Regions from separate parts of the Homo sapiens genome. Here regions 2, 3, 4, 5, 6 and 7 are each linked to region 1. The links are contacts of gene promoters, found by promoter capture Hi-C in blood cells and fetal thymus (Javierre and others, 2016). All regions are on one chromosome and are shown on one strand. The core of a region is centred on a gene start or on the middle of the fragment in contact, and the rest is flanking DNA. Distances in the headings are between cores, read along the strand shown.

Evidence for each region. Contacts are between HindIII fragments. The CHiCAGO score rates a contact against its expected background, and 5 or more counts as called.
Region 2: a fragment that was not itself captured here is called in contact with the fragment with the promoter of ALG14-AS1 in region 1 in 3 of 17 cell types (naive CD8 T cells, total B cells and total CD8 T cells); the score reaches 7.0 in naive CD8 T cells.
Region 3: a contact is called between a fragment that was not itself captured here and the fragment with the promoter of ALG14-AS1 in region 1, in 1 of 17 cell types (total CD4 T cells). The highest score is 5.8, in total CD4 T cells.
Region 4: a contact is called between a fragment that was not itself captured here and the fragment with the promoter of ALG14-AS1 in region 1, in 3 of 17 cell types (erythroblasts, total CD4 T cells and fetal thymus). The highest score is 5.8, in erythroblasts.
Region 5: a contact is called between a fragment that was not itself captured here and the fragment with the promoter of ALG14-AS1 in region 1, in 1 of 17 cell types (endothelial precursors). The highest score is 7.1, in endothelial precursors.
Region 6: a fragment that was not itself captured here is called in contact with the fragment with the promoter of ALG14-AS1 in region 1 in 2 of 17 cell types (endothelial precursors and erythroblasts); the score reaches 7.1 in endothelial precursors.
Region 7: a fragment that was not itself captured here is called in contact with the fragment with the promoter of ALG14-AS1 in region 1 in 6 of 17 cell types (total B cells, M1 macrophages, fetal thymus and 3 more); the score reaches 6.8 in total B cells.

The regions. Positions count from the first base shown.
Region 1 is chr1:95,060,324-95,063,023 of GRCh38, reverse strand. ALG14-AS1 (ALG14 antisense RNA 1) reads right to left here and starts at 1,428. Exons shown (of 2, transcript NR_132786.1): 1 at 835-1,428. The region is part of intron 2 of ALG14 (ALG14 UDP-N-acetylglucosaminyltransferase subunit); the gene reads left to right. The HindIII fragment of the contact is 7,319 bases long and covers 1,284-2,700 here.
Region 2 is chr1:94,422,143-94,424,842 of GRCh38, reverse strand. All of the region lies in intron 1 of ABCD3 (ATP binding cassette subfamily D member 3), which reads right to left. Among named protein-coding and RNA genes, the nearest start is that of ABCD3, 5.1 kb to the right of the region's middle. The HindIII fragment of the contact is 5,695 bases long and covers 1-2,700 here.
Region 3 is chr1:94,403,529-94,406,228 of GRCh38, reverse strand. It overlaps a transcript of ABCD3 not described here. Among named protein-coding and RNA genes, the nearest start is that of ABCD3, 14 kb to the left of the region's middle. The HindIII fragment of the contact is 721 bases long and covers 922-1,642 here.
Region 4 is chr1:94,470,924-94,473,623 of GRCh38, reverse strand. The region is part of intron 4 of ABCD3 (ATP binding cassette subfamily D member 3); the gene reads right to left. Among named protein-coding and RNA genes, the nearest start is that of ABCD3, 54 kb to the right of the region's middle. The HindIII fragment of the contact is 756 bases long and covers 985-1,740 here.
Region 5 is chr1:94,537,935-94,540,634 of GRCh38, reverse strand. It overlaps F3 (coagulation factor III, tissue factor), which reads left to right. Exons shown (of 6, transcript NM_001993.5): 2 at 267-378. Among named protein-coding and RNA genes, the nearest start is that of F3, 2.5 kb to the left of the region's middle. The HindIII fragment of the contact is 2,259 bases long and covers 144-2,402 here.
Region 6 is chr1:94,513,770-94,516,469 of GRCh38, reverse strand. It overlaps ABCD3 (ATP binding cassette subfamily D member 3), which reads right to left. Exons shown (of 23, transcript NM_002858.4): 22 at 1,268-1,324. Among named protein-coding and RNA genes, the nearest start is that of F3, 27 kb to the left of the region's middle. The HindIII fragment of the contact is 3,154 bases long and covers 1-2,700 here.
Region 7 is chr1:94,487,081-94,489,780 of GRCh38, reverse strand. It overlaps ABCD3 (ATP binding cassette subfamily D member 3), which reads right to left. Exons shown (of 23, transcript NM_002858.4): 11 at 2,170-2,239; 12 at 1,990-2,087; 13 at 1,798-1,889; 14 at 1-56. Among named protein-coding and RNA genes, the nearest start is that of F3, 53 kb to the left of the region's middle. The HindIII fragment of the contact is 5,668 bases long and covers 1-2,700 here.

The DNA of each region.
Region 1 (2,700 bases), core at 179-2,678:
ACCACAATGAGATACCATCTCACACCACTCAGAATGGCGATTATTAAAAAGTCCAGAAACAACAGATGTTGGTGAGGTTGTGGAGAAAAAGGAATGCTTTTACAGTATTGGTGGGAATGTAAATTAGTTCAACCATTGTGGAAGATAGTGTGGCGATTCCTCAGAAATCTAGAGGCAGAAATACCACTTGACCTAGCAATCCCATTGCTGGGTATATACCCAAAGGAATGTAAATCATTCTGTTGTAAAGATACATGCACACATATGTTCACTGCAGCACTATTCACAATAGCAAAGACATGGAATCAACCCAAATGCCCATCAATGATAGAATGGATAAAGAAAATGTGGTACATATACACTATGAAATACTATGCAGCAATAAAAAGGAACAAGATCATGTCCTTTGCAGGGATATGGATGGAGCCAGAAGCCGTTATCCTCAGCAAACTAATGCAGGAACAGAAAACTAAATACTACACGTTTTCACTTATAAGTAGGAGCTGAACAATGAGAATACATGGGTACATATGGGGGAACAACACACATTGGGGCCTGTTGAAGGGAGGGGTTGGGGGAGGTAGAGCATCAGGAAGAATAGTTAGTGGATGCTGGACTTAATACCTAGGTAATGGATTAATTTGTGCAGCAAACCACCATGGCACACGTTTACCTGTGTAATAAACCTGCACATCCTGCACACATACCCTGGAACTTAAAAGTTGAAGGAAAAAAAATGGTTGCTTAATTTTTTGCATATTTTTTATTCTTTTAAATAGAGAAAGCAGTTTTTCGTTGAATTCCAATAGTGAAAATTATTTTATTTTTACTTACATACACGAAGCATCCTGTTCATGTGCTTATTGGCTCTTCATTAAAGCTCTCTATCAATGTGTTACGTTTATTGATAATTTGATTTATCTATGACTGCTGTTTCTTCTCCAAATCATACTTGTGTCTGCCTTTGAAATTATTAGTACTTCTTTACCCCTGGTTGCTCACTTCATTATAGCATTTTAGTCAGTGTTTAGAGATTTTTTTTTTTAAGTGAAACTACTTCTTAATTAAGGAAGGAAACTAGAGCTGTTCCTTATGTAGAGTGAGTGCCTTTATCCATCCCTCTCTCTGGGAACGGCCCAGCTGCAGGGCTGCTCTGGATAGTTCAGGGGTGGACAGCTGGCCTAACTCAGACCAATCGAAGTCTTTCTCTGAGCTTTCTGGGCTTGGAGACCTAGAGAATGGAATCAGTCTGTCTTCAGGCAAGCTCTGTAAATGATAAAGCTTGAAAGCTGCTGACAGTCATGTTTTCACTTAGAAGATAAAGGTAGTCTATAGATAGAAGAATGAAGATAATGTACAGGAAGAGAGGAGAAGCCAGTGTCTGGTGCTGCCTTCAGTGGCTCAAGAGGCCCTGCTATAGCTGTGTTGGTCCTGGATTGGTGGTTCTTTTCTTGGGAAATCAGGACCCACTCCTAGAACCCTACCCCACTCCCTTTGTTCCCACCTTTGTGACATACGCACACTCTCTCTCTCTCTCTCTCTCAAGGCTGTTTGTGTTAACTTTTGGTCATTTGTAAACCTTATCCCCAACTAACATACTACTAAAATGTATTCTCAAAAAATCCACGTCAAACAAGATTGGTATATAAATCTGCTTGCTATCATTCAGCTATAGCAAAATGTGTGGTACTTTTTTTCCTCTGTGGAAAATAAGCCAAAGTGATTTCGTTTTTGTTTTAGGAATCAATACTGTATTAGTTTCTTAGGGTTGCTGTAACAAAACTGGGTTTTTGCCACCCATAAACTGGGTGGCTTAAAATAACAGAAATGTATTTTCTCATAGCTCTGAAGGGTAGAAGTCTGAAATCAAGGTGTCATGGGGCCATACTCCCTCCGGAGGTTCTGAAGAAGAATCCCTCCTTGCTTCCTCCTGGCTTCTAGTGGTGGCCAGCAATGCTTGGCCTTCCTTAGCTTGCAGCTACGTCACTCTAATCTCGGCTTCCACCATCATATGACCTTTTCTGTATCTCTGTCTTCACATGCCTTTTTTATGAGGATACCGGTTGGATTTAGGGCCCACTCTAATTCAGAAGGACCTCATCTTAACTTGATCATATCTGCAGTGCTCTTATTTCTAAATAAGGTCACATTCATAGATTCCAGGTGGACATGAATTTTAGGGGGACAGTAGTTATATACTGTGCATCACAACACTTAGAACCAAGTAAGTTGGGTTTGCTTCACATTAATAGTCTTAACTATAAAAATATTTTGGATTTTTATTTTTATTTATTTGTTGTTTTTTTTTTAAACAGAGTCTCACTTTGTCACCCAGGCTGGAGTGCAGTCGTGTGATCTCAGCTCACTGTAGTCTCCACCTCCCAGGTTCAAGCGATTCTCCTGCCTCAGCCTCCTGAGTAGCTGGGAGTACAGGTGCCTACTATCATGTCTGGCTATTTTTTTTTTTTTTTAATAGAGACAGGGTTTCACCATGTTGGCCAGGATGGTCTCGATCTCCTGACCTCGTGATCTGCCCACCTCAGCCTTCCAAAGTGCTGGGATTACAGGCGTGAGCCACTGTGCCCAGCCAGATTTTGGATTTTTATAGTGCCATTATTTTGTATTTTCGAAGTGCAATGTAGGACTAAGCATCTCTGTTCAACTTCCTTTTACTAACAGTCGCCTACTGGGGCAATGCAG
Region 2 (2,700 bases), core at 43-2,542, 640 kb after region 1:
ATATACTGCAAACATATACAACAGACAAGATAAATATGTAAAATATATAGCATATTTTATAGTGATAAGTGCTAAGGAGAAAAGTAAAGTCTGGAAGGTAGACAGGATGCTATTTTGAGTGGCAGGGGCCAGGCACAGTGGCTCTTGCCTGTAATCCCAGCACTTTGGGAGTCTGAGGTGGGAGAATCGCTTGAGCCTAGGAGTTCGAGACCAGCCTGGGCAACATAACGTGACCTTGTCTCTACAAAAAATATTAGCCAGGTGTGGTGACGTGTGGCTGTAGTCCTAGCTACTTGGGAGGCTGAGGTAGGAGGACTGTTTGAGCCTGGGTGGCAAAGGTTGCAATGATCCAAGATGGTGCCATTACACTCCAGCATGGGTGAGAGAGTGAGACCCCGTCTCAAAATAAATAAATAAATAAAAATAAATCGAATGGCAATAGAAGGTCTCACTAAAAGGATGTCTGAAAAAAGACTGAAAGAGTGGGGAGAGTAAGCAATGTGAGTATCTGAGGAAAGAGCACTTCAGGCAGGGGAAACAGCAAGAGCAAAAGCCTTGAAATAGAATGCCTACCCAAGGATGTGAATGTGCCAGTAACTGGGACATATAATTAATTAAACAACCTGTACTCAGTTCCCCCTAGCAGACCACAGACAGCTACACAGTTCTCAGAACACTGCTCTGGGCCTGATCTGCCTCAGTTGGGTTCAGTACACAGCTACTTTGGCTGGCAAATTCTTCAATGCTTTTTTTTCCATCCAAGGTTGCTTAAGCATCTCTTTTTTATTTTGAGGATCCAAACGGGGCCATATAACATCTACTCATGGGTAACTGTAAGGGTCTCAAGCCGCTCTAGCCCCTCACATGATTCATGCTTGCACTTTGCAAAACACCCAGTGCGCCTGTGAAACTGAGAAAAGTGAAGCCAGCCCCTTCTAGAGCTTGATTTGAATGGGGCAGATTTAAGGAAGGAAAGCTGAATTTTGAAGTTTGCAGGAAAGTTGTAGAGGGGTTAGCAGTAACGTAGTGCAGGGAGTAAGAAGCTGGAGATATAAGGACACCCAATGGGTAAAGAAAGGCCCAGCAGCAGGCAACAGGGCTGAGACTCAGGACAAAAAAAAAAGTCAAGAAATTTCCAGCAGTGGGAATGTCCAAAAAACTTCTAAATAAAAGCATTTTAAGCTGTTCACTATGCTGGGATATAATCCCTACCACTCCTCCCAAATTTTCAATAAAGCCCTACTATAAATATCTGCTTTGTGATTGATTCTTTAGAGAAATCAAGGCAGACGCCAAAGAGACAGGCTCAAGAGACAAGATGTAAGTACCTTCTAAAATAGAGCAGAAAGTGCTCCAAAGGAAGCGAAGTAAGATGTCACTAAAAGAAACACAAGCTCCCTGAAATTCCTGAGAAATATTTAGGAGAGGAAACTGTGTTCCCACCATTTACAGAGGGGGGCTTTTAAAAGCAGGAAACTCACCCCATAAGCAGGTGGACTTTGGTAGACCTAGCTAGATTATAACCAGTCAAGCAATGAATAGATAAAACAATAAAGGTATTTAAATGCATGCTTCAGAAATTTTAAAAGAGGTGATCATCATTTAGATCATCTGGAGTAGTTAAATAACACTTCATGGATAGGGTGACCCTGACCTAACCCTTCAAGGATGACAAGAGTTGGAGAACAGGGATATCATAGAAAGATATTCTAGGTATGAGTAACAGCATGAATAAAGCTCCAAAGCCAAAAATGAGTGTGGCCTGTTCAAAGAACAGTGTAGAAACTGTCCTATTTGGAACAGAGAGTACCCATTGGCAGGCAATGGCATATAAGATTAGCCAGGTAAAGTAAGACCAGATTGAGGGAGGCTCTGAAATCCAAGATGAGAAATCCGAACTCTATTTGACAAGCATTGATAAGAAGCGAAAGAAACTGCTTTGTTCTGTTCTGTTTTTTAAAGATAATAAAATACTATGGCTATACAGACTGGTACCATTCCCTGCCTTCTAAAATTGGCCCACTGATTTCCCACTACCCAGGTCAGGTTATATATGCTCAGGTACACAACTATTACTTCTGCAAAAAGAATGTTTCTATTCATGTTTGTACTAGGCATCTCCAAATGCCTGTCAATTACGCTTAAAAGTTCTTCAACTATCCTATGTCATTTATCCTCTCTATAAACACTGTCTAACCCATGACAGAGCCGAACTAGGGAATTAAAGATGACTCAGTTCATGCCCTCAAGAAACTCAGGATCTGATGTAGGCAAAAGCCAAGAAAACAAACTAGTACAATACAGAATGGTAAGTGCTAGAGTAGGGGATACCTAGAGCAGTAGTCTCCAACCTTTTTGGCACCAGGGACCAGTTTTGCGGAACACGATTTTTCCACAAATTGGGGTTGAGTTGGGGGATGGTTTCAGGATGAAACTGTTTTGCCTCACATCATCAGGCATTAGATTCTCATAAGAAGTGTGCAACCTAGATCCCTCACATGTGCAGTTTACAACAGGTTCACGCTCCTATGAGAATCTAATGCCCCTGCTGATCTGACAGGAGGCGGAGCTCAAGTGGTAATGCTCGCTTGCACAGGCTGTGCAGCTGGGTCCTAACAGGCCACCAACCTGTACCAGTCCACAGCCCGGGGGTTGGGGACCCCTGGCCTACAGTATCATAAAAGCAGAGGACACTTACAT
Region 3 (2,700 bases), core at 33-2,532, 660 kb after region 1:
TTAGTGTATGATAAAGGTAATATCCCTTCTCACTCAGGCAAATATAGTTGTTTTTTTTTTTAATAAATGGTGTTGAGATCGCTGGATAACCATTTGAAAAAAAGTTAAATTCCTTCCTCAGACCATACACAGGAATAAACTCCACATGGATCACAGATATAAATGTGGAAAATAAAATTACACAAGTACAACAAGAAAACATGGGTAAATACCTCTGTAATCTAGATATCAGAAAAGGTTTTCTGTTACTAAAAATTCAAATGCACTAAAAGAAAAAATTGATAAATATAATTTTTAAAAATTTCTAAACTTTGGCATGCCAAAAACCATAAGCAAAGTCAAAAGGCAAACAACAAACTAGAAGAAAACATTTGCAGCCTACATTGCAAATAAAAAATCAGTATCCCTAACTGATAAAGAACTTATAAAACTTAAGGAAAAAGACCAAAAATCCTACAGAAAAATAGGCAAATGACAAGAACAGACAATTTACAAAAAGAGATACAAAAGCTGGTCTTTAAACACGTTGGAAGATGTTCAACATCGCTCCTAATAAAGAAATGCAAGATAAACTATACTAAAGTCAGTTTCTCACCCACAACTTTAGCAAAAAAATTCAAAAGCTTGATAATGGCGGTGTCTCATGCCTGTAATCCCAGTACTTTGGGAGGCCGAGGCAGGTGGATCACCTGAGGTGGGGAGTTCAAGACCAGCCTGACCAACATAGAGAAACCCTGTCTGTACTAAAAATACAAAATTAGCCAGGCGTGCATGCCTGTAACCCCAGCTACTCGGGAGGCTGAGGCAGGAGAATTGCTTGAACCCAGTAGGCGGAGGTTGTGATGAGCCAAGATGGGGCCATTGCACTCCAGCCTTGGCGACAAGAGTGAAACTCCGTCTCAAAAAAAAAAAAAAAAAGCTTGATAATGTTACTATGTGGCAAGGTATGGAGAAAATAAATACCCTCATGCATTGCTGGTAGGAATGAAAAGCAATTGAGGGGAATTTGGCTACACAGATTCAAATATAAAACTATACAGGCATTTACCCTAGAGTGTTACCTTTTGGAATTTACATATACTAGGAAGTAGATACACACCCAAAAATACAAAAATGCAATATGCACAAGATTATTTTGAAATAGCATAATATTGAACACAAACCAACTGTTCAAGTATAGGACACTAATTAATCTTTGGTATATACACATAATGAGTTCTATGCAGCTACACAAACTATAATAGGGAAGATTTCTTTTCTGTTTGTTTTTTTTTTTCTTTTTTTTTTTTTCGAGATGGGTCTCGCTCTGTCACCCAGGCTGCAGTGCAGCGGCGCAATATCAGCTCATTGCAACCTCCGCCTCAAAATAGGGAAGATTTCTAGGAACTGAAATGAAATAATTTCCAGGAGGTATAATTAAGTTTTTTATAAAAGCAAAAGAGCTTATGAAGGATGCTAACTTTAACATATGAAAGAAGGGAAAATAAAGATATATACATATATTTATTTAACTTTGCGAAAAGTAATACTAGATGAAAAATCAGATAACAATGAAATTTGTGACCTACAAGGGGATGCAGAAATAGAATGGAAGGGATGTAAAAGAGTAACACTTCTCTGAGACTATCTTTTTGCATAAGCTTGACTCTTGGAAGCATGATTACATTCTACATATTCAGAAATGAAATTCAATGAATAAGAATAAGAAGGAAAAAATGAAAAACTGAAAGCAAACCACAACAAATGAAACTGATTTTATTTCATATTAATACCATAACCACACTGGAGAGAAAAAACAAGAGAGCCAAAGATGGAAGAGAGGAAAGAAGGAAGGAATCCATGTAGCTTATGAACATAATATTTGACTATACATCCTCAGTCTTGTGCAGGGTTGTGGATAAGGAAGAATTACACATGAACCCTGAACTCATTATAGTAGACTTGTTTATTCTAGTATTATGGGCAAAGTAATTCTTAAACTGTTTAAGAATTTTATTTTGGATTGATCAAATGAGCAAAGGTATTGATGTTGTTGGGATCTAGAGTTATCACTGACGAAGAAGGGACAAAAAAATTATGGAGTAGGAGAAAACCAAAAAGAATTCTGAGGGGGATGGATTGCAACTGGAAACCTCAGATGTGATTGTATAATTTGTAAAATATGTATGTGGTATGTGTATGTGTGTATATGTGATAAGTATGCATGTATATGTACTTACAGGTATACATTTGTATACTAGTGTGTATACATTTACATATTTCTTTGTTCTGTCCACTGAAAAGACCAAGAAACAAAGTCTGGTAGCAATGATCATACCTCATACCTAGATCTTGGTCTTTTAACACCATTTACCACTAAAAGGAACAAGGGCTCCTCAAAGAAATGGCTAATTCCAGGGATGGAGCAGGGTAGGTATAAGATGAATATTTAGTCATATCAGAAAATTAAAAAGTTGATTAAAAAATCATGAGGGCATGTCACAGGAACACAGGAGTCATCTTGAAAAGGCTCCTCCAGACCAAACCTGAGATAATTTGTACACCAAAATAAGTCCAGTAATAAATTATAAGCCATTGAAGAAATAGAAATTAATGAGTTCATATCTACAATAAACAGACAAATAAATAATAGTGGAGAAAAGAGGTCTCTTGATTACAGGTAAATGCGAAGGCCAACTGGTAAGGGAGGAGTGCAAGCTG
Region 4 (2,700 bases), core at 113-2,612, 590 kb after region 1:
TTTGCAAAAACATGTTTGCAACTTTAAAATGTCATCATTTTGAACTTGCTGGAACCTCATCCTGCAAATGGCAAAATTAAACAGAATGATAACTAATTATTTCTTAGTAAAAATGGCTGCTTTAAAAAAAGGCTTAAGTGGCTACAAAAGAAACTAAGCTAGCATAACAATTAACAACTTTATAGTCCCAGGAATGGGTTATTATGAATAAACAAAGTACCATTTGTTTGTTTTAAAATATTTTAATAATCTGATTCTCATTTGTGTGAACTAATGGCAGGGAGACAGACTTAATGGGGATCAGCAAAGGGTCAAGAGTAAATATTTTAGGCTTTGTGCACCCTAAGGGCTCCGCTGCAACTACTCAATTCTGCCACTGTAAAACAAAAGCAGCCAAGAAGTGTGGCTGTATTCTAATAAAACTTTACCAAAACAGATGGCAGGTAGTGAGATTTGACCTGTGGGTCCTAGTTTGCCAATACTGGGACTAACGCATAGATCAGAGCCCAGAATGGATCTACAGAAGCTTCATGTTCCTCAACACACTTCAGCTAGACTAGCTTCTCTTTTGCCTGTTGTTAATCTGTTTTACATATTTTTCTGCTTTTAAAATATACATTAAAAATTTTTAAAAAGGGTTCTAAAACTTTATTAAAAATTTGAACAAAGCAGTATTATATAAGTAAAGGATCTTTGAGTAAGATATGTCTATGACCTAATACAAAGATAGTATGTATTTGATCACAGAACTCTTACTTCAAGTAATACTTAATAATGTTCCCAAATTTCATAAGACATATTTATATAAAACATTTAAACACTGGACTAAGTGGTTTAAACCTAGCTGCCCACGCACACACAAAAATTACTAGTATATGACTAGAGAAATAATTTCTTTTCTGTGAGGGACTAGATGGATAAATTTGGGAAATCCTAGGTTAAACAAATCTAACAAATGTCTTTACCAAAGACCTTCTCAAAGCTTTTAATGTATAGTATGTGCATTTTAACTCTCTGAGAGGGGTTTGTAGCATGAAACATTTCCTCTATCATAGCCAAGATTCCACAGAACATACTTTGGGAAATGTTCCTTTAGACTGATTAAGAGAAATTAATACTCCAATGTTTATATAGCCCCTAAAAAGTAAAACAGTTAAAAAAAAAAAAAACGCTAACTACAAGAAAGTTAAATAGAACCACACAAAAATGTTGTTTATAGCAATAAGAATATTACAGACATTAAGCAATCAAGACAGTACAAAAGGTTCAGAGAATTTATGTTAAAATTGTTTGAACCAAACCTTACTTAAAACCAAAGTGCTTTAGTGCTGCCCAAGCTGTGAAACACACAAGAACATGCCATCATTCAGCAATGGTTTACCATTGGAGTAGCAGCTATAAATTTAAAAAATGGTTTCTTGAATAAAGCCTTATTTCTGCTTATTATTCCACTGCAAAAAAAATAATTAACAAAAAACAATTTTACAATAGCCCTAATCACTACAACTTCCAAATGTTTAAGAATCTTTATAAAAGAGAGTTTGGTAATTTTTAAATTCTGCTTGTAGCCAAATGGGTGAAAATAAAATATATTTTTATGATTAGATAAAGCAGCAACAAGGTATGAAGAATTTTCCTCCATGTCATGGAATTAGTATAGTTTCTACCTTAAAGAGGGTGTCTTTCCTATTAAGATTTGCCCATACTCCAAAGTCATTAGTCACCATCAACAAATAAGCTTAAAATATGAAAAGGATATTAAAATGAAGTACATTAAGGACCATAATAAGTCTCTTTGAGGCTTTCTTTAGCAGAAATACATGAATCTGGACTTACTTTAGAAAAGGCAAAAAGAGAAAATAAATAAATCAATTTGCACTGTAGCTTAAATACTGAGATGGAGATATATGTTAACTTTTCAAATAAAATTATCCTGTACGAATGTACAATATTTTAAAACTTTTTTTGAGATAAGGTCCAAATATTAAAGAATTTCATACACAGCAGAGGCTCAAAACTATTTAGGAGAAAGTTAACAACTTTAAAATGAGTGTTTTACAATTGGTGAATGTGGGTTAAGAATATAAGGAAGTTCCTTATGCTAATCTTTTTTTTTTTTTTTTTGTGAGACAGGATATCCCTAAGCTTAAGTGATCCTTCTGCTCAGCCTCCCGTGTAATTGAGACTGTAGGTATGTGCCACCACAGCCAGCTAACTTTTTTATATTTTGTAAAGACGAAGTCTCACTGTGTTGCCCAGGCTGGTCTTGAACTCTTGGCCTCAAGTGATCCTCTTGACTCAACTTCCCAAAGTGTTGGGATTACAGGTATGAGCCACCACACCCAGCCCCTTATTCTATTTTTCAACTTTTCTGTAAGTGTAAAGTATACCAAAATAATGGTTTTAAAAAATGGTTCAGAAACTCATACAAAAAATGAAAAACAATTTTTTAAAATTTCATAATTAAATTTTAAAACTGAGTACTACACACACGTGCACATGATTAGGGTCCCCCTACAAACACCCTTCAAGGGAGACCAGTTAACAAGCTCTCAACTCCAGCTTCTAGTAAGTGTTTAAGGCACTTACTTTTAAATATGAATTCACAGCCAAGAGTCACAGAATGCTTGAGGAAGGCCTCTAATGTGAATGACAACAGAATAACAAAAAATGCAGGGAGCTAAAAACACATTAAAAACT
Region 5 (2,700 bases), core at 24-2,523, 520 kb after region 1:
TTTGCCCATGAATAATTTCAAACGAAAATGTCAAGATCCTTGCCGGTGTCCTGGGATTACAAGGTGAATCTTGTCATGAAGAAATTCTAGGTCTAGAAAAAATTTGAAGATTCTTTTTCTCTTGATAATTCACTAATGAAGCTTTTGTGGTTGAAAAATAAAAAGTGAGGTTTATGGTGATGTCAGGTGGGAAGGTGTTTTATACATCAATACATTCGAGTGCTCTGAAGTGCATGTAATAATAGCTGTTTCTCTGTTGTTTAAAGGCACTACAAATACTGTGGCAGCATATAATTTAACTTGGAAATCAACTAATTTCAAGACAATTTTGGAGTGGGAACCCAAACCCGTCAATCAAGTCTACACTGTTCAAATAAGGTAAGCTGGGTACAGAAAAAGAAAATTAAGGTCTTTGATGTTTCTACTGTCCTATGCTGAACAAGAATGTCTTTAAAGCTGATTACTGGATGAAATTATTTAACAGATGACGAAGAAGAAGGGATTCTTGGCAATTCGCTGGCCGGTGTCATACTCTATTAGGCCTGCAACATTTCCAGACCTTAAACTGATAGAACATTTTAATTGTTTTAATTGTTTTTGGAAATGATGGGAGAGTTCCTAAGTGGAGTATAAACTGTGGAGAGATGAACCATCTTGAGTAGGCACTGAAGTGTGCTTTGGGTCATGATAGATTAATTAATCTCATCTAAACATTGATGTCTTTTTCTGTTGCTGTCTAGACTGTGAACAATGTCTAACACCTTAGGGAAGAGGTGGGGAGGAATCCCAATGTATACATTGCCCTTAAGCAGTGTTTGATTCATTCATCTTTGGACTCCATGAATCGAAATCTGGTAGAATACATGATCTTAGTGGAGGAGGCCAAATGCGTGACTCACTGAGCCTGGCAGAGCAGAAATACTCTGCTGTCTGCACCCTCTGGGTCTGGTGTGGCTCTGCTTCTTGGTGCCTCAACTCTGACTGGCAGCTGTCCCCAGGAGGCGATAATTCAGCATGTTCAATCTAAAGGTTATGACTTCCTTGATGGTTTTCACCATATTCTTGGCAAGTTTTTGGTTTTTGAAATGTTCTAGGAGGCTTGGTAGAGATCTTATGAAATAGAGAATAGCTGCTGTGGAAATTATTTTAATGCTAATTACATAAAAGTACAAAAGTAGCACTAGCTAAAACAAAAGGTATTTTGCTGTTCTGTTTTGTTTTAGCTTGTGCCAGGCCTTTTACAGCATTAGGAATGCAACTTCTAGATAACGATGCATCTTTTAAGTGAATGTTCTTGTTTTTCAAAATGAACTTCATGACAGTAGTTGCCAAACCAGCAAGGAGAACTTGCATGCATACGTGCATGCATGTGTGGATATGTATGGGGGTGGGGGGAGAGAAAGATGAAGGAATTTCATAACATGAAATAATGATTACAGTTCTGGTCAAACTTGTCAATTCAGATTTCACCAATTGAGAATTAGTAAGTAATTTCTCTGATACAGGCCTGAAGTTTACCTTAGTAAACACTTTACTTCCATATGGTAAAAATTAGATTTTGGGAGGAATGCTTACCTCCTAAATATATTCAATCTAATATTTGAGGGACACATGGGAATATATTTATGATTCATCTGCTTTTTAAACATAAGCCTTTGTTAACTGTAAGTTCTTGAACTTTATAAGGCTGCTGTTATTTAAATGAGCACAGCTCCTGATCTGCAAACAGCAGAGCGCAGGGCTACAGCTTGGGGGATGCCAGCCGACTCAGGGTGGTCCTATGGACTGAACAATCTCTTGCTGCTGTACTGGAGGGCCTGGGAGCTTTTCCATCAGCCTCGGCCTGAGGTGTGCACTCTTCTCCTGCCCACCCCAGGAATAAATGAGATTCCTGGTTAAAAAGGACCAGAGCAGTCATTTTACAGTTGAGGAAACTGTTGCTCTGAGAAGTGAGGGATTTATTCATGACTACACTGATGGTGAGTGCCCATGTCAGGTCTGGAACCAAAGTCTACCCAGTATCCACACACCACCATCCCTCAGGTGGCTCTGCCACAGTCTGATGGGAGGCTCCAAAGCGGGAGGAAGAAGGAAAGTCTTGCCCACTGCATCTCCTCAGTTGGCCTTCCTCTCTGCCTGTTTTCCCTCCCTACAGTTAGCATCTTAAGCAGCTGCCCCTCTTCCCTCCCGACTGCTCTCACTACTGCAGCCTGGCTCCAGCCGCAGGACACTACTGCTGTGCAGAAGCCCCTACTTGGAACTCCAACTGCATTTTTCACCTTTGCTAACAGTTTTCAGTGGTGGTTGGGAAATGTTATTGGCTTAAGCCTTAGCACAAACCGTCACCGGTGATATTCATTCCATGGAAATGTTCTGAATTCTAAAGCTGAATTTACAAAGCTTCTGGAAAACAACCTGCAACCAAATTAGTGACTGAATTTTTTAGTTAACTCAAAATTCCAAATCAGAGGGTTTTGCAATGCCTGGAGGAACCTTGGAGGCTTTTAAAGTGTTAATGCTATTAATGGCATTCAGAGGGATTTTCTACAGAATTGTCCCTTCATTACCTGTTTATACAGTTTTACTACTTACCAGGGTACTGTATAAATCCTTGTGCTAAATTTTGCTATAGAGTATGTGGTCCCTGCTGTGAGCTGGGAGGAACCAAATACTGTATCTCTATGTTACATAGAAAGCCCT
Region 6 (2,700 bases), core at 147-2,646, 550 kb after region 1:
TATAATACTTATGAACTTCCGAGAAAACATAAAGGCTTGGCTATATTTTAAATGCCTTTGATTTCTAGTTATTCAATTTCCTGCTCAGTTCATGAAAAATTGACAAGTTATAATATGCCATAAAATAATAAAAGCTATCTTTAAAAGTCACACAGTTATATAGAATTTCACTGAATTTTATTAAGTACTTTCATATAGGCTACCTGTCTAATTTTCATGGTAATCTAAGAGATAGGAAGGTAAGGCTCAATAACTTCATTATACAAAGGAAGCAACTGAGGCTAGAAACTTTGGTGCCTGAACCCAGGCTCTCTGACTTCAAATCCTATGCTCTTCATTTTATCACTTGTAGACTATCATCTACATCCTAAAGTTCTTGAAGGTAAAAACTGTAATTAATTTGCATCCCTCATGACACTTAGCTCAGTATCTGGCAAAAAAAGGTCCTTAATCAGGTATGTATTTTGTGGAACAAGGCACCTTTACCATTATTCCAATTTTTCTCAAATCCTTGCTTTTACCTAAAATTTCTATATCATTTAGGAAGGAAAAGAAGGAAAGAAGAGAAGAAAGGAAAGAGGGAAGGGGGAAAGACAGAAAGGAAAGAAGAAAAGAAAGGAAGGAAGAAAGGAAGGGAGGGAGGGAGGGAGGAGGAAAGAAAATAAAGAGAATTAAACTGGGTTTACTTTCAGGTTTTGAGCATTTCACATTGAGTTGAAAAGAACTGACATAGTGAGAATGGCACTACTGAAGCACCAGAATAAGTAATACACGTGCACCAATGTAAGCCTCATTTGAATATCTTTGTAAATTATAGTGACTATCTAATGAATCCTACTTACTACAGTACATTGATAAACATAGCTTATGTTATTCAATCTTCCCCCTTGTAGTCCTGACCTCTATTAAAAATGTCCCTAAATTTTTTGCCATCTAATTCTTCTTAAGACTTTTTCTCCTCTGTCACTGCTGGATAAGAAAAGTTTACTTCACCATATTTGTGATAAGACTATGCAAAGTTTAGTCAGTTACTATTAACAGATAAGAGTCACTTATAAAACTGGAGAAAAACTGTTACACCATTGCTTTCAAAACTGACAACTATAATATTTAAGAAAATCCTATTTTATAAAACAAAACCACCTTTTCTCCTTAAGACATATGTTTAAGGGAATACAAACCATAAAATCTAAAACCATATTAACCTGAATTCATATTTTAAAGAAAATAAAATTTCACTGTACCATTCAATGAAAGAAATACAAACCTCATGATGTTTCCAAAGAGATTTCCTATGAGACACAGTGAAGAGAGTGATGCCAACCTAATACAAAGAAAATGATTTAGGTTTAATGAGTAACAGAGTCACAAATTAAACTAGTCCATGTACTTTAAGCTGTTAAGAGGACAGTCTTCAGTGACTAAAGTTAAAAAGCAATGTCAATGAGAAAAAATTTACAACTGGATGCAAAATGTTTATAGCAATGGAAAGTACTGGCCATCAACCACATAATAAAAACTACCAGGTACTGGCATTAAGTGTATTATTTTCTTTTGGGCAAAAAACATATCTCCTATCATGTCTCCTATTTTATTGTGAAAAATATATGAGAGGAATATGAGAAGGATAAAAATAGCCAAAGGTCAAAATCAGGAAAAATTAAATCAGTATAGCATTGTTGACAGTCAACTTGCTTTTCAAATACAGGGTCATAATCCCCTACCGTAAACTACTGTTTTGGAATGTGTCTTGGAATTCAGATTTTGAAAATGTATTATTTAACACCCCCAGAGAGTTCTGAGGCAGAATTTTATAATTAAACACATAAATGTTTCTGTAGCAACACACATGGACACTGATATTGAGACATATAGAGTTTAAATATCTTTTGTTAGCTTAGGCGAAGTTTTACCCAGTGAGCTTGCTACAAAATTATGAAAAATGTTTTAAATTTAAGCACTTTCTGGATTTCAGATTGTGAATACGTATTTATAGATCTGTACTTCAGATTTTCAAAAAAAAAAAAACATTAATAGATAATAGCTGTAGTTGCTCTAGATCAGTGGTTCTCAACCAAGGTGGGGAGGTCAGTGATATTTGTCCCTCAGGGGGACATTTGGCAATGACTGGAGGCATTTTTATTTTCACAACTGAAAGCACTACTGCCATCTAATGGGCAGAGGCCAGGGATGCTTTCTAAACATCCTCCAGTGCACAGCAACCCTCAACCCTGCCCAACTAGGAATTAACAGTGAAAAGGTCAATAGTGCCAGGACTGAGAAACCCCACTCTGGGTCACTGTTCCTCCAAGTGGATCACTCAAGGCTGGCAAATGCATGCTTAGGGCATCTGGGAAATTTCCACCATGGTTTCTTAATTTTATTTTCATTTTGATGATAATTTTTAAAAGATCATTATAAGTATATTCTAGATCATTTTTACCATGAGATTCAAGTTCCTCGGTTTGTATCTACACCTCTGATTGCCAAAGTGATATAAAATAAAACTTCTAATGTGTAATAAGTTTGGCTGCACTGTAAAAAGGTTCTTAAATTGGTTAGGAATTGCATAATAAAATAAGCATATTATCAGTATTAATAAAACATATATTTCAACCATACCACACTTTTCTGATTTTTCAGAGCTCATTTAAGATATTATTTCTCTGTTTATGATACTACAATAATTGGATTAGACAT
Region 7 (2,700 bases), core at 93-2,592, 570 kb after region 1:
TGCCATGATTTAAATCCTTCAGTACTTGCATTAATTCTGTAATCCGAGCAGTAAAACTAAAATTTTAGAAAAGGAAACCATAATCAAAACTCCAGACTATTGTCACATCTTTTATTTTATACAAACTGAAGTTCCTAAAATTATAATTTAGTATAAATGAAGTAACCTAACAGTCTCATCAACATAAAGTATTAATGATAACATGTGTGCTTTATTATGTTTCAGTAGGAGAGCAGGAATATAGGGATGAAGGAAGAGGTTTCCATAGGATCCCCAACTCAACAGATACTTCATTAATAGCCAAGTCAAGGCAGTTATTTGCTGAGAATTTTCAGGAGGTTTCTCTTGGATACTACAAAAGGACCACTACTAGTATATTCCTTAGACCCAGGAAGTATGGACTCTGATCTCTTGCTGAAGTGACCTATAAAGCCATGTATAAAGCTGGTCTTTCTATCCAAGGAAGGCATTTATTAAATGTATGCCGAATGCATGCTGCCTTCCTGCAAACGGAAGAATCTGAAAGATTCCCTCTTTCTTACTCTGAAGAGGGGAAAGATGATGAGTTCTTATTATTAGATAGAAATCACTGTGGCAATAGAGAAAAATCAAAACTAACGACAAGAGGTTGGAGATAACAAAAATGACCATGATCGCCAAAGAGAAAGTATTCTGCATCGAAGAAGAAAACAGGATTTTTCTCTGAATAAAAAGCAGAAACCTCCTAAAGCAAACTTTGGGAGGTGATGAATGTTTATGGTCTTGATGGTTTCACACGTGTATAACTTATTCCCATATTCATCAAATTGTATACACTAAATATGAACAGTTTCTTATATGTCAATCATACCTCAACAAAGTGGAAAAAAGAGAAAGAAAGGGGGGCAGGGAGACGAAGGGAGGGAGTGAAAGAGAAAGACACACACACCCACACAGAAAGAGAGCGAGAGAGAGAGAGAGAGTGAAAGGAAACACCCTAAAGGAACAGAAGCACCTTATATACCATGAACTGTAAAGCCATAAGAAAAGTTAACAAGTAGGAAGAATGTTAGTATTCTCATGAAAGAGACTCTACTCATAGTAGTTAACAACTTCTATATTGCATGAAGACCATAACTGCCACAGGAGCTAAGAAGGAGGAAAAAGAGAAATATGAAGATGGATCACAGGCCTAGGAAAGATATTCAGTCATCAAACTTCTTCAGGTGACCTAAAATTTATGGTGTTTTTTACACCATACCATGCCCTTTATATTGGAGATTGAAATACTGAAATCTTAATATTTAATTTCATTCTACTGTCTAAAGATAATTTTACTACTAGATAATATGACTACATTCACAAGCACGCCTACAGATACAAGATAACATCTCATTTTTTTTCCCATTAAAGTCAACTTCATTTCTATTCATCTGTTTTGCTAGGTTGCCGGTATCTAAGATCCAAGAAAAAAAGGTATGGTAGAGGACAAGAAAATTTAAATGAGAAAATTCTATTCATAAACATAGTTTTCTGTGAATTAAGACTGCCATGATTCAACATTTCCCAACTTAGCAAATACGTGTCCATGGAGCAAACAACTTGACAGCCTCTAATCTACTGTACTGCGCAAACCAGCTGTCCTCAAGAAACATGAAAAGTTCACCATCAGAAAAATCTTCCTTAATTTTCTATCAAAACCACCTTCCTGGGCTAGGAAATGTTGACCCCTTATCTTAATCTCAACTGATACAATCATTAAGGATAATATATTTTTAAAAATTATTTTCTGCAACAGCTCATTATTACTAATCTTACCCGGCCAATCTAGTCATTTCACGCCCAGCCAAAACTATTCGACCCAGAGCTTGAGACATTCGCAAAAGCATTCTTCCACTTTGGTAGTAATCCTTAAATAGAAATAAATATTAGTTTTTACTTATAGTTCTATGACTAAAAATTTGGCTTTATTTTTACTGTTACATTTTCATTGTATTATCATCAGTTTACCTCTAGAAGTTCCGAATGTGTACTCTTGAGATGTCGAGGATGAGACAAATCTAAGAAAGGGCGACTGACAACTAGGTAACCAACAACAGTGGCAAGGTCTGAAACCAAACAGGTAAGATTTAAAACAGTAACAGTATTTCACCTTTTCCACAAATCTCATCTCTTTCAAAATATACTTACATTTGGCAATAATACTATCAATGAAGCCCATTGAAAACCGAAACAAAATGAAATTATGTAGGTGTTCCACCTGGCAGAAAACAAAAACAAAAAACCATCTTTTTCTCTGTATAAAAAACTGAATCTACTATAAGGATAAAACAAACTGTATAGTTCATTTATTCAACAAATATTTACTGAGTGCCCGTGATTTCTGTTTATATTCTGTTTATATTGTACATCACACCACCGAGGACAATGCTCTTCACAGAGCGGGTGCCAAACAAACACTTCATGAAACCATTTTTATGCAAACAGCATGGAAATTACATAAACAATTTTAACAATGCTGTTTCTCTTGCATGCAATAGCACAATGCTATTGTAGTCACCATGCTTTTGGATACACATATCCCAAAAGAGGACAACAACGAAAGCAAAAAGAACAGAGATTAACTAGTTTGAGTGAAACACTAGCTGTCCGGATTGGCACTGAATGCTTTGCTTTCAGTGGAGACACATGGTCTGTGCTTTATCTAAGAATTGTATTACA